Regions from separate parts of the Homo sapiens genome. Here all the other regions are linked to region 3. Evidence: promoter capture Hi-C in 16 types of primary human blood cells and fetal thymus (Javierre and others, 2016). All regions are on one chromosome and are shown on one strand. Each heading gives the region's core, a stretch centred on a gene start or on the middle of the fragment in contact. The rest is flanking DNA. Distances are from core to core; before and after follow the strand shown. Region 1 has its middle 27 kb from the start of ZNF577. Region 2 holds the start of ZNF616 (zinc finger protein 616). Region 3 holds the start of ZNF677 (zinc finger protein 677).

What was found. Contacts are between HindIII fragments. The CHiCAGO score rates a contact against its expected background, and 5 or more counts as called.
Region 1: a fragment that was not itself captured here is called in contact with the fragment with the promoter of ZNF677 in region 3 in 1 of 17 cell types (total CD4 T cells); the score reaches 5.1 in total CD4 T cells.
Region 2: a contact is called between the fragment with the promoter of ZNF616 here and the fragment with the promoter of ZNF677 in region 3, in 1 of 17 cell types (M2 macrophages). The highest score is 5.9, in M2 macrophages.

The regions. Positions count from the first base shown.
Region 1 is chr19:51,858,554-51,863,197 of GRCh38, forward strand. It overlaps a transcript of ZNF577 not described here and the pseudogene LOC100419706. Among named protein-coding and RNA genes, the nearest start is that of ZNF577, 27 kb to the right of the region's middle. The HindIII fragment of the contact is 409 bases long and covers 2,093-2,501 here.
Region 2 is chr19:52,138,196-52,143,249 of GRCh38, forward strand. ZNF616 (zinc finger protein 616) reads right to left here and starts at 1,743. Exons shown (of 4, transcript NM_178523.5): 1 at 1,537-1,743. It also overlaps the pseudogene RPL37P23. RefSeq lists an enhancer at 1,339-1,578 and silencers at 1,699-1,978, 1,989-2,038. The HindIII fragment of the contact is 2,387 bases long and covers 1-2,086 here.
Region 3 is chr19:53,253,363-53,257,834 of GRCh38, forward strand. ZNF677 (zinc finger protein 677) reads right to left here and starts at 1,511. Exons shown (of 5, transcript NM_182609.4): 1 at 1,472-1,511. The HindIII fragment of the contact is 13,972 bases long and covers 1-4,472 here.

The DNA of each region.
Region 1 (4,644 bases), core at 1,047-3,546, 1.4 Mb before region 3:
ACTGTCAAACAAAATGGGGAAGGGGCAAAAATCTAGAGAAAAAAATAAGCAAGATTTTGCTGGTACATTTTTACAGAATTCCTTGCAAAACAATAGGTTTCACTGATAACCAAAATAAGTCAGTTATTTCACATGGAGGTAAAAAAAAACCTTGCTTTTTAATAACTAGAATACCCACTAGAAGTTTTATAGAAGATTCAGTCAAGTAAGTCTCATTTTGTTAAAAAAAAGTCCATATTTGAAGTGCCAGAGTTCATGCAATATTTTTCTTTTTAAATATATTTTTCTTCATGTAAAAATTCAAATATTAACAATTTTAGAGTGTACAATTCAGTGAAGTTTAGCACATTCACAATATTATGCAACCACCATCTCTATCTAGTTCAAAAACATTTTCATCATTCTAAAAGAAAACCCCATACATACTACGCAGATAGATTGCATTCTCCCTTCCCCTCTAGTGCCCAATAACCACTAATTTGCTTTATTTCTCTATAGATTTACCTATTCAGAGTATTTGATATAAATGAAAGTATAAAATGTGGAATTTGCATTTGGCTTCTTTCACTCAGTATGTTTTTTGGGGCTCATTCATGCAACATGTCATCAGTACTTCATTCATTTGTATAACTGACCATTTATGTATTCATGTGTACATGCATGTAGCACATTTTATTTATTCATCCTTTGATAGGCATTTGAGTTTTTTCAACCAAATGCTATTTTGGCTATTGTGAACAGTGCTATAAACATTCATGGACAAATATTTGGTTGAGTACCTGTTTTCAATTCTCATGGGTATTTTACTTAGGAATGGAATTCCTGGGTCATATGGTAAGTCTGGATTTAACTTTTTGAGGAACCACCAAAGGAATGGCATATTATCATAACAAATCAAAAGTTTCGGTGTGACACAAACTTGAAATATATAGCCATAAACTCACCTCATATAACCTCACACTTTTTTCTTCCATTACTCTAATGTGTTGCTGGTTTTTAAATATTTTAGGTAAATCTTTTATAATCTTTGGATGTTTCAGAGTTATAAGGCTCTAGAAAAATGTAAACTTCTACTTGTGATGGATCATCACAGTGGGCAAAAATACTACAAATGACAGCAAAAATAAGGAATTCACACTTACGTGGTATAATCCTTTAGACTCCTTAATAATGAGTCAAATATGTATTACAAGACATTTTGATTCATAAGAAAAAAACATTTTATTTGCACTACATTGAATTATTCAACATTTTGTCTTATGTTGAGAATTTCTTTAACCCTGAAAATTGTTTCTTCGTGTAATTCCAAGTAAACAATGAAGTTTATAAATATATAAAGTACATGTCACATAGTACAGTCCACAACACAACCCCTAAGATCCTTTGTCACTATTCGACTAATCCTTATTATATTCTTATTTTTCATATATTCAAAAGGAATATTTGACAATGAAATGTCTAATATTTATAGAATATTCTCTGGAATCCTTTCTATAATAATTATGCAAAACCATTATAAAATTATATATACAGGCAAGGGTAATTACTCAAATCTAAAGTGCCATCACACATTTAAAAAGCCCTGACAATTACTATGACATTCCAGATCATAAGATGCTTCACAATTTAAGACATGGTAGGATGTGAAGAAGTGAATCCATGAAATAAAAAATAACTTATCACTGATGCTTTTACCACTTTCACTGCATTCATAAAATCTCTGTATGGAGCAAATTCTGCTCCTATATTTAAAAGCTTGTGATGTTTAATGCTATCTAATCCTCCACAGAAATTATTTCCTGTGACCAGAACCATTGCTTTTAGGTAAATGTATGACTCTGCTGAAGCAGAATAGATATGGCTCCATTAGGATTTTATACCTGCATTGAACCTAAATATTATTGCCTTCGAGAATAGGATCTTTCTGATAACTGAGTTAGGGGGCAATTCAGCTCTGAATTTTAAATAAAGAATTTTAGACAATCACTGCAATTCTTTCCTGCTATGCAATGGGTTTTGTGGCCAATGGCCAAGTTTAACTCTATCGTTTTCCCTTCTGATTTAAGTATCTGATGTATATGTCACTTTCAAAAGCTTTCCACATTCCGTTTCAGAAGGACCTATCTACCACATGAGTTTGCTGATATAATTAGTGACCTTTGGTATCTACATGAAGGCTTTACCACATTTACTATATTAATAGGGGTTTCCTCTTGTATGAGTTTGCTATAACAAGAAAGATAAACATTAACTGGGAAGACTTTATCACAATCACATTCACTGTATCTATGAGATTTCTCTCGTAAACAAGATATTCAAAGAGTTTTGACTTTCAGATTTTAATTTTTACCTGCAATGAGGTGTGATTCTTCTTAGCTTTCCTGCATTCCCTCCATCTGTAGGGTCCTTCTCCTGAATGAATACCCTAATGTGTAACAAATATAATTTGAGAATGATTTATCATTTTCATTACATCCACTGGTGCTGCCTACTAAATGGAAAGCTTCTAGTTTTCTAATAAACTTTTTTGACAATCACTGCACTCATAATTGACTCTCTCTTTTTTTTTTTTTTTTTTTTTTTGAGACAGAGTCTCACTCTGTCACCCAGGCTGGAGTACACTGGTGCAATCTCGGCTTACTGCAACCTCCACCTCCTAGGTTCAAGAGATTCTCCTGCCTCAGCCTCCTGAGTAGTTAGGATTACAGGTGTGCACACCACACCTGGCTATTTGTTTTTTTTTTTTTTTGTATTTTTAGTAGAGACAGGGTTTCATCATGTTGGCCAGGCTGGTCTCGAACTCCCAACCTCAAGTGATCTGCCTGCTTCAGCCTCCCAAAGTGCTGAGATAACAGGCATGGGCCAATGCGCCTGGCCAATGATTCTTCTTGTGAGATCTCTACGGTAAACGAGGGATATCTTCAAAAAAGAAGGCTTAAAATATTCATTGCATCTATAAGGTTTCTCTCCCACAAGAGTTCCAAAAGGGCCCATTACAATCATAGTATTCATGGAACTTCTATTGTGTCTGAGCTGATGTGACTAATCAAAAAAGCTCTCTCATATTCCAAGTCACTGCATGGACTTTCTTCCTTCCTGCTGGGGTTTCTGATGATTAGTAATAGCTGATTTCTGAGTAAAGCTTTTTGACATTCACTGCATCTATAGGGCCTCTTTCCTGTGTGAGTTCTCTGGTGACCAATGAGAGTTTACAAAGTAGCGAATGCTTTCTTACAATCACTGCATTTATATGGTTTCTCTCCTGTATGAATTCTCTAATGTACAGTGAGACAGGATTTAACTATGATGGCTTTATTACACATGCTACATTTGAGGAGTTTCTCACCTGTATAGGTTCTCTGTTATATAATGAGAGTTGACTTACAGGACAAAACCTTCCCACATCCACTGTATCCATAAGATTTCATTCTTGCATGGCAAGTTTTTCGATGCTTACTGAGACCTGTCTTTTGGGTGAAAGCTTGTTGACCTTCATTGCATCATAGGGTCTCTCTCCTGTGTGAATTGGCTGATGAGTCATGAGATATACCTTACTGGAGAAGGCCCTATCACAGTCTGAGCATTCATATGATTTATTTCCTATATGAGTTCTCTGATATACAATGAGATTTCCCTTTGATGTGAAGGCTTTATCACATACATTGCATTTGAAGGGTTTCTCACCTGTATGGGTTCTCTGATGTATAACAAAGTTTTTTTTGGAGGATAAAACCTTCCCACATTCACTGCATTCATGGGATTTCCTTACTGCATGATGAGTTTTCTTATGATTGTTGAGATCCAACTTCCAGATGAAAGCTTCTTGACATTCACTGCATCCATAGGGTCTTTCTTCTGTATGAATTCACTGATGCTTCATAAGCTGAGCCTTTTTCAAGAAGGCTTTCTCATAATCCAAGCAAGCATATGGTTTCTCTCCTGTGTGAGTTCTCTGATGTATAGTTAGCTGTGTTCTAACCATGAAGGCTTTATGATAGACTTTGCACCTGAAAGGTCTCTCTCCTGAATGAGTTCTGAGATGCAAAATGAGGTTCGACTTCCAAGGAAAAGCTTTCCCACATTTACTGCATCCATAGAATTTTCCTTTTCTATGAAGAACTTTCTGAGGATAACTGAGCTCAGATCTGGTCTTCAAAGCTGTTTGACATTGAATGCATTAATAGGGTATCTCTCCTGTGTGAATTCACTGATGAATCATGAATAAAGCCTTTTTTGAGAAGGCTTTTTCACAATCTGAGCAAGCATATGGTTTCTCTCCTGTGTGAGCTCTCTGATGTACAGTGAGATGTGTCCTAACCACAAAGCCTTTATCACATACTTTGCAAATGAACGGTCTCTCTCCTGAATGATTTCTTTGACATAAAATGAGTTCTGACTTCCAAGGGAAAACTTCTCCACATTTGCTGCATGTACAGACTTTCCCTTCTCTATGATGAGTTTTCTGATGATACACAAGCCCTGAATTTGTAATGAAGGCTTTTTGACATTGATTGCATCAGTAGGGTCTCACTCCTGTTTGAGTTTGCTGATGAGCAATGAGCTTTAACTCACTGGGAAGGGCTCTCCTAAAATCATGAGATTCCTGGGATTTGTTTCCTGCATGAGTTCTCTGAGGCATGGTCA
Region 2 (5,054 bases), core at 493-2,992, 1.1 Mb before region 3:
CATTTCTTGCCTATTTCTCTCCTCCTCCATCCTCTACTCCCTCCCTGGAAAGAAGAGTTACAAAATGACTGAATCAAGTCACTGCCCTGTGGCTAAATAGGGATTCCAAATATCTTTTGATATAAACAAATACAAAATGCACAAGCCTTGTAGAAAAGAGTGGTAATTTTCATCCTCATGAGTACAATTTAAAGAAACAAATTTTAAATTAGAGTATAAAGTCACAAATCAATACATTAAAACCACCATCCATATCCAATCAACTCACAGCTCATCTGGGTGGGGTCCTCGCCCACTCTCTTCACTACTATGTGTTTCCCGCTCTCATTCTGCACGTCTTTTTTCCCTTTGCTGTTTTTCTCCCCTTTCTTTATTCCCTCTTTTATGTCTATTCTGCCCAATGCTTCGAAATTTATTTCACCTCTTGTTGCTCTTTCTCCCCAAACTTTCCCATTGTCCCCAGCCGCCACGTATTCCTGCCTCTTTTCCCCCATCTGAGCTCCCTGTCTGCTCTCCCTGTTAAAATCCCTCTTCCCTGTTAAATTCCCTTTTCCCTGTTACATCTCCTTTGTTCCCACTCTCTAGCACCCCCAACTTCCTAGGCTTCCTCCTTGCTGTGGTTCTCCCTCTACTCTCCTTTGTTACCCACTCCCCTCTCCTTCAGTCCCAGCACCACGTGGCTCTGTCAGCCGCGGCTCCGACTCTTACCTTTTCCGCCCCCCGCGTCTGACTGCAGTGCCTCCTCCTTTGCCGCCCCTCTCTATTTTGCTGCCCTTCAGCTCCCTGAAGCTCTCCCTTTTCCCTAATTTCTTTATGTGCTTTTCTCCCCGTGCTACTTTCTCCATGCGTCCTCTTGCACTCTTGCTCTCTTTGCCAGTACCTAAATTATCATCCATTTTGCCGTGTACTCATTCTTTTCTCCCCAGTTTTTCTTTCTGTCCCGTCGCTCCCCCTCTTTTCCTCTCCTGATCCCTCTCACCCACACATTCAGGAGGAAAGGGGAGGAATACGATGCCCACCTCCCGGAAGAGCACATTTTCCAGTGGAGTAAAAATTTGGGAAGGAACGACAGTGGGTGTCACAAGACAGACTCGGGTGACCTCCTGCAACGCGGAGTCAGGAAAAGCAGTGGCTGTGAAGGGGCAGCCTGGGGAGGGGAAGGACCCGGCGTGAGGAGGACACTAGGTGGCGCGCGGAGGACACTAGGTGGCGCGGGGGACGGTGTCTCAGGACAGGGAGGGTCTGCAGAATCCCAGGACCTGGGAGAAGAAGCGGCTCCTTCAGGAGCTGGGCAGCGGGCGCTCCCCTCCAGGCGTCGACAAGGGCGAAGCTCGGGGGTCTCGACTGGTGGGAATCCACCTCGCGAGGGAGGACTTGACTTCGCCCGGGGCCGAAGCAGGGGTCAATGAGAGTTTTAAGCAGGAACACGACCTGAATGGGGTTATCGACATGGTTATCTACATGGCAGAAAGGCAGGGGGCAAGGAACAGCCTGAGAGAGATTTTAAACCGACAGGGAAGCAATTCTCGGACTTACGTGGGGAGAAGTGCCTGTTGCAGGGGCGAAGGGGCTATGGGTATTTTAAGGTCCGTAGCGATCCCCAGATCACTGGTACGGAGAAGTGAGGACTGCAAAGTGCACGTTTAATCCAGGCAGACGGAGCGAAGTAATGTTTAATCCACGTAGACTGAAACACACACACAGCGATAAGGCCTTTCCCTGGCGCAATCTGCTTCCGGGAGTGACGGAAACTGCTAGCGGAGAGAAAAAACTGGGAGGCCAGGGGGCGGGGCCTGGGCGAGCCGCGACCAGCAAGGGGCGGGTCGGAAAGAGGGGCCTGACTCGGGGAGGGACCCTGAGAGGGTGGAGCCGGGCCGGAGCGGCAGTGGGCGTGGCTAGGTGGGGCGGGACGGAGCCGCGGCGGAGGATGGGGCGGGGTTTCATGGGGTAAGCGGGGCCGAAATAGAGCCTGTTATTTACTCTGGTTCACAGGCAGCATGTCTTTGGTTTTCTGACTACTTCTTGTCCTGTGAAGCAGCGTTGCTGCCTGCCTATTTTAAGTTAATGTTTCAAAATTTAAGGTTAAAGCTTAAAGTTGTGGTCCACTTATATTAGAAACTAAGATGATTTCTTAACAAGTTGAACTAAGTCAAAACCGATTTTTACAAGCTTGGTGGACTCCATCCACTCTTGCCGATGATGCTGAAGCTACTCAATAGTCAGGGAACTAGGATCTCGCTGGGGATTTGATGTGGAGCCGTGGCTGGATCCAGGAACCCGGAAGACATTATGCCAAGCGAAATATGCTAGACACAGAAAGACAAATACTGCCTGTGCTTTTACACGTGCAAAGTACAAACGTCAAATTTACAGTAACAGATTAGAAGGGTGGTTACCAGGGCTGGGGGATGTATCCTATGCCTTTATCACCATTATATTTTGGAAGCAGATAACTTCTCTGGCCTCACAGATTCACAGCTGGGCAGAAATTTTGCCTCAGGATGAATCACACCTTGATTCTCACCCATGTGTGGTTCAGATAATATTTAGGGGGTATTCTGCCCTAAGAGCTGATACAGGAATGGATTAAGACTTTTGAGAGTTGATACTGAAATGGATTAAGTCTTTTGAGATGGGCCAGCAGTTTTGGAGGCCCAGGTGGGCAGGTCACTTGAGCTCAAGAGTTCAAAACCAGCCTGGACAGCATCGTGAGACCCCCATCTCTACAAGAAATACAAAAAGTAGCCAGGCTTGGTAATGCACTCTTGTAGTCCCAGCTACTTGGGAAGCTGAGGTGTCAGAATTGCTTGAGGCCAGGGATTTGAGATCATCCTGGGCAACATAGCCAGACCTCTCTACAAAAAATTAAATTATCTGGACATGGTGGCCTGCACGTGTGGGCCCAGCAACTCGGAAGGGTAAGGAAGGAGGATCATTTGAGCCCAGGAGGTGAAGGCTGCAGTGAGCCATGAGAAGAGGAGATTTGGTTGGGTGCAGTGGCTAACGCCTATAATCCCCACACTTTGGGAGGCCAAGGTAGCAGGGAGCTAACTTGCATTCTTCTGTTAGCTGAGGCGTTTGATGATAAATGAAAGCAGAAAGTTTGTGACTTATTTACGTTCTTTCCACAGAAAGGCCATATGTCCTTGGCCATAAAGAAAAAGAGACCTACAGCTTATCTGCTTCCTCTATTTTTTTTTATATGTTCTGGACCATGAAGAAAGATTTATAGCTTATTTGCTTTATCTCTTTGCTTTCTCCTGGTCCTTTCAGGCTGACTCCTTTTCCCCAATTAGGGCTCCACAGACTCTACCCTCAAAGGGCATTTTTTTCTCACCCTCCTATAAAATCCCTCCCACAAATAAACCAGGATCCTATTTCCCAGCATGAAAAGTTTGTTGGAAAAAAAACTGAGGCTGCATGGGACCTTCTTTCTCTTCTTCAAAACTACTTCACCTCTTCTCTCTTTTGTCTCTCTCTTCCTAACTGCCCTGCACAATTCTAGGTCCCCAGTGAATCCTTGGGTTGACATGCAAGGGAAGAACCCATAGGGAAAGGAAATCTCTGGCTTTCAGAGATAACTTTTTGGATATCTGGATGCATTCATAACCATCCTTGTGTTACCAGAAAGGGGTCCTGATCCAGAACCTGAAACTTCCATTGCACAATTATAACTGAGAAAATTATTACAGTGAAAGAGATCTGACCTAATCAACTCCATCTTGCTTTTAACCTCCAAGCTGCTCTTGTTCATTCCTGGGCATAGGCTGAACTAACTTTGGAAGGAACTTAGTTTATAGTTTGAAACAAAGACATTAACAGCCCTTTCCCAAAACAAACCCCCTTCCTGCTTGGGGACTAGACTGCCTTTGTAAGACTAACAAATTAGGCACAAGGTGAGAGATGATGGTTTAGGAGTCATGTAGCTGGAGGCTACAAGATTCTCACCCTTCCCAGATTGTTCCTGGGGATAACATTACTATTATAAAACCTAAGATCAGTGCTTGAGATATTTTGCATTCCCTGCACTTGATGGATCACCTGACACCAACCCAGATCCATAAACTGGCTCATCTGGTCTTGTGACCCCACCCAGGAACTGACTCAGTGCAAAATGACAGCTTCAGATCTCTATGATTTCGTCTCCTACCCAACCAATCAGCACTCCCGACTCACTGACACCTACCTATCAAATTATCCTTAAAAACCCTGATCCCCGAGTTTTCAGGGAGACTCATGTGAGTAATAAAAAAATTTCAGGTTCCTGTACAGCCAGCTCCACATGAATTAAACTCTCTCTTGCAATTCCCCTGTCTTGATGAATCAGCTCTGTCTAGGCAGCAGGGAAGGAGAACCTGTTGGGCAGTTACAACCAAAAGGGAGGGTTCTTGGATCTCATGCAAGAAAGAATTAGGGGTGAGTTCACACTGTAAAGTGAAAGCAAGTTTACTAAGCAAGTAAAGGAACAAGGCAGGGTGCAGTGGCTCACGCCTGTAATCCCAGCACATTGAGAGAGGCTGAGGTGGGCAGATTGCTTGAACCCAGGAGTTCAAGAGCAACCTGGGCAACATTACAAAACTCTATCTCTACAAAAAATACAAAAATTAGCCAAGGGTAATGGTGTGCACCAGTAGTCCAAGCTAGTTGGAAGGCTGAGGTTGGAAATTGCTTGAGCCTGGGAGAATTTTTTTTTTTGAGGCAGTGTCTGGCTCCGGTCACCCAAGCAGTAGTGCAGTAATGCCATCTCGGCTCAGACTCTAATTCAACACGGAATGTTGAGCTTCTGAGCGTGATATAGCGGAAGTGCCTTCTCTTCCGGTCTCTCTGGTCTTGGCCGCAGAAGCCAGATGACGAAGGGAACGTCATTGTTTGGAAAGCGTCGCAATAAGACGCACACGTTGTGTTGCCGCCGTGGCTCTAAGGCCTACCACCTTCAGAAGTCGACCTGTGGCAAATGTGGCTACGCTGCCAAGCGCAAGAGAAAGTATAACTGGAGTGCCAAGGCTAAAAGACAAAATACCACCGGAACTGGTGGAATGAGGCACCTAAAAATT
Region 3 (4,472 bases), core at 261-2,760:
ACATAAAAGAATAGTTCCAATATATGATAAAAAGTAGAAAGCATTTAGGCCAGGCGCGGTGGCTCACGCCTGTAATCCCAGTGCTTTGAGAGGCGGAGACAGATCACCTGAGGTCAGGAGTTCGAGACCAGCCTGGCTAACAAGGTGAAAATCCCGTCTCTGCTAAAAATACAAATTCACCGGGCATGGTGGCGCATGCCTTTAATCCCAGCCACTCGGGAGGCTAAGGCAGGAGAATCGCTTGAACCCTGGAGGCGGAGGTTGCAGTGAGCCGAGATCAAGCCACTGCACTCCAGCCTGGGTGACAGAGTGAGACTCCGTCTCAAAAAAATAAATAAATAAATAAAAGAAAGCAAAAGAAAGCATTTAAACCTCATAAGCTGAACAATACATTTAAGAGAAAATACTTTGAAAATTTTTTTTAAATCCAATAAATTATGGAATTACATTTAAGACAAGTTGAATACACGTCAAATTTAGAAAATGACACAAGCCACACACAAAAAAGGAGGGAATAATATTGTTAATGTCTGTTTGCAAAAGCAGCATACGGTGTCACAGTTTCTTCCCATTTCTTGACTCTCCTCAAGATCAGAGAAAGGGAAGAGGGTGAGCTGGAATTAACTGAGCTAAGTCAGTTAACCCTCTGGCTGAATAAGGGTTGCTTCTGATGTAATAATTAGAAAACGCAGAAGCCTCACACCGTAGTTTTGCAATTTTCATGCTCTTCTGCACAAACAATGAAGCAAATTTTAAATTAATTATAGAGCCATACATCAGTACTTCACAACTTAATGTTCCATATTAAATCAATCCACACTCACATGGATTTGGGTGCCCCCCCCTTTCTCCACCATTATGTGATTTTTTTCCCCCTCTCTATAAATGTTTCTCTTCCACCTTCTGTTTCTTTCCTTTTCTTTTTCCCATTTCGGCGTTTTCCTGTCCCTTTCTGCTCATTTGGCTTCCCTTCCTCTCCTTCTCTGACAGAGTGTTTGGCCCCATCCTGGTAGCATCCTTTTTTTCAGTCCCTGCTATTGTTTCTGATGGCTCTCTAATTTCGCGCATTTCTCCCTCTTTATCCTCCATTTCTGCTTCCCCTCTGTTCTCCCTGGAGAAGGGCGAAGGGTGTGTATCCACCCCGAGTGAGGGCTTTACCAGGGGGAGGGAAGAGGGAGTCAGAGAAGAGTTTTAAGCAGAGAAACGACGCGGTGGGCGGTCGGTGTCCACACTGACCTAAAGCAAAAAGGTCGGGGCCAGTACCCACTTCAGAACGATTTTAATCCGAAATGGACGCAGATCTCTAGACCCTCTCGGAGCGACGGGACTGGGAACGTCTTAGGGCCACGCCGCGAGAGGAATGAGCAGGTTCGGGGTTTTAACCTACAGGGCGACCCCAAAACCCGACAGCGGAGCGTGGGAACCTGTGGCCCGCGAGGCGCAGGCTTGAACCCGAAAGACGGAGACTCACCCGAGAGCGCCAGTAGCCCCGCGAGATCCGCTTCCGGGTCGGCAGGAACCTGCGCGTACGCGAGTGCACTGGGGCGGCGCAAGGGGCAAGGGCAGGGGCAGGGCGCGGACAACTGTGGGGATGGGCGGGCAAATGGCGGGGATGGGCGGGGACAATGGCGGGATGGGCGGGGACAATGGCGGGATGGGCGGGGCCTAGGGGTCGGACTGCCGGACCTCTCCTCGGCGCGTCCCAGCGACTTTTTTAGGCCTGTTTGTCGCCCAGCAGTACTCGATTCTTCACTTTTGGATTCCCTTGAATCTCTATGGTGTCCTTTGGAGCCTAGCTAAGTAAAAAATTAGAGACCTGTGGGCCCCTTATATTGGAATCGGAGCTTAAGATGGGAAAGGTTTGCTTGAAAACGTTTCTGCGAGCGATGGAGGCGCGTCCTGCGACGAGGCGGGAGGAGCGCTGGGACCTGGTGGATGGGAGAGGGCGACGGTATAAGGAAGCTCTTGGATCCAGGAACTTCTGAAATCCGGACGATTAAAATTTGTATTTAATTAAGCGAAAGCTGGAGTTGTCTGCGTAGGTGATGGAAACTGGAATGAGATGCATTTTTGTGCCTGTGCGGAGTGTACAATTTTATATTGACTTTCACTGGAACGTAATTTTTATTTCCGCTCCCCAGTCACCCAGGAGGCAGAGATGCACCATGGGCTGAGTTCCAGAGAATTTATGGGGTCAGACCCTGGGCGGTGGGGGGTGGAAGGCTGAGGCTTGGCTTTAAAAGAACGCAAAGTTCTGCTTGTATCGATCTAAATTTATTTTCCTTTATTATCCTAATGCACATTTCTTGAGATAAATTACAAATCCAAGTGCTGGATTTATTGGAGTTGGTATGTTGTGTTTTGTCTAAGTTATTAATTACTAATATACTATCGTTATTATTATTTTTATTATTATTTTGAGATGGAGTCTCTGTTTCCCAGGCTGGATTGTAATGGCGCGATCTCGGCTCACGGCAACCTACGCCTCCTGGGTCAAGCGATTTTCCTGCCTCAGCCTCCCGAGTACCTGGGACTACAGGCGTGTGCCACCATGCCTGGCTAATTTTTGCATTTTTAGTAGAGACGGGGTTTCACCACGTTAGCCAGGTTGGTCTGGGACCCCTGAGCTCATGTGATCCGCCCACCTGGGCCTCATGAAGTGCTGGGGTTATAGGCGTGAGCCACCGCTCCTGGCCTTTAGTCTGTAAAGTCTTTATTCTCAGTTATTTGGAAGAGTATTTTTAACATAATATGTGCTTGGCAATTCTCCTGGCCAACTGAATTGATTTCTCTTGGGCCCAGAGAGGAAACTTATTGACTGGAGGCTCCCCAAGAGAAGATGAGCCCATATGGGGGTATCTGAGTAAACCAAGGTCTATCCACTGTCTCTTTGGGTCTCTGTTTTCGTAACTGGGAATTACATCTGATAACAGGTGAAGGGTGAAAAAAAAATGAGAGTGCATTTTAGCATAAAAATACATATATGTTATTTACATATAAACATACACATATAAAAATTCTATTTATTTTACATATAAAAATACATATATGTATTTAAATTTTTTTTTTTTGAGACGGAGTCTCACCCGTACAGACGGGGTTTCACCGTATTAGCTACGATGTCTCGATCTTTTGACCTTGTGACCCACCCATCTTGGCCTCCCAAAGTGCTGGGATTACAGGTGTGAGCCACAGCGCCCAGCCTCTTTCTCTTTTCAATGTATTAAATGCACAAGATTCCATACTTTCAAATTCCATTTTGCAGAATTATTATATTTTCATAGGTTTCCCAAATCAAATATTAATTCAAGTTTCAGTTAGTTGTTTTAAAATAATAAATATATAGTTACATAATCTTTAAAATGATTCGTTTTCTAGCCTAAAATGCTTTATCACCTTTTATGTTTCATGTCTCATATTTTAGTGCACACTCTACCTAATGTTGTACATTAATTTCCGTGATGGGTGCCGTAGTATTTTTAGTCTTTGCAGACAGTGAAATGAGTGTTTCTGCTGGTATCTTAACATCTACTCACATTAAATACATTGGGTCATATGAAATTATTTAGTGCCTATTATAACTTATCAAGACCTATGAATATTCACTCATAAGTTATATTGATATGTAGAATAAATACTTTGACAAAAATAGGAAATTATCAAACCAAATTTATAAAGTGAACATGACAAATATTTATACATATGTAGGTGTGCGTGTATGTATGTGTGTGTGTATATGTATATATATGTGTGTATAGATATATAAAGGACACAACTAGGCAACTATTATAGCGTAGTAGTGAACACCAATGTTACTGCAACCAGGCTACTCACGTTCAAATCTTCACTCTTCTGGTATTTAAATGAGTCACCTAATCTCCTTGTGCTTAAACTCTTTTAGAGTTGGTGAAAGGAGAATAATATGAATTCCTACCTCATGGAGTTGTGAATATTAAATGTCAGAATAGGTACAGCATTTATAAAAGTCACTCATACATTGTAGGTGCTGTAAAAAGAAATACACGAAATGGGAAATTTGTTAACAATATATCTCTCTATATATTTCACTTTTAATATTCAGGGGGAAGAAATCGTCATAAGTGAAAGGTTATTTTCCATGAAAATGTGGCCCACAACTCGTGTTGCCATGCAGAACCTTCTGCTTACTCAATATTGAGTGCTGGAAAATGACAGAATGGCCTCTGTGGACCTGAAAATTGGAATGATCTTCCTATTTGTGGGCAGCAAGCCACCCAGCTGCCGAGGCAAGAGACCGAGGGCACGAGCTGTTCCAGCATAATAAAATATATAAAACAACAAGAGTTATATTAGATCTAGATCATAGACATGATTATATATGAATATCATTAATCATTAGTTGGTAGCAATTACTCTTATTCCAATATTATAATAATCCTCGCTCTATAATCATAACCTAGGAAAAGCCAGGCCATACAGAGATAGGAGCTGAG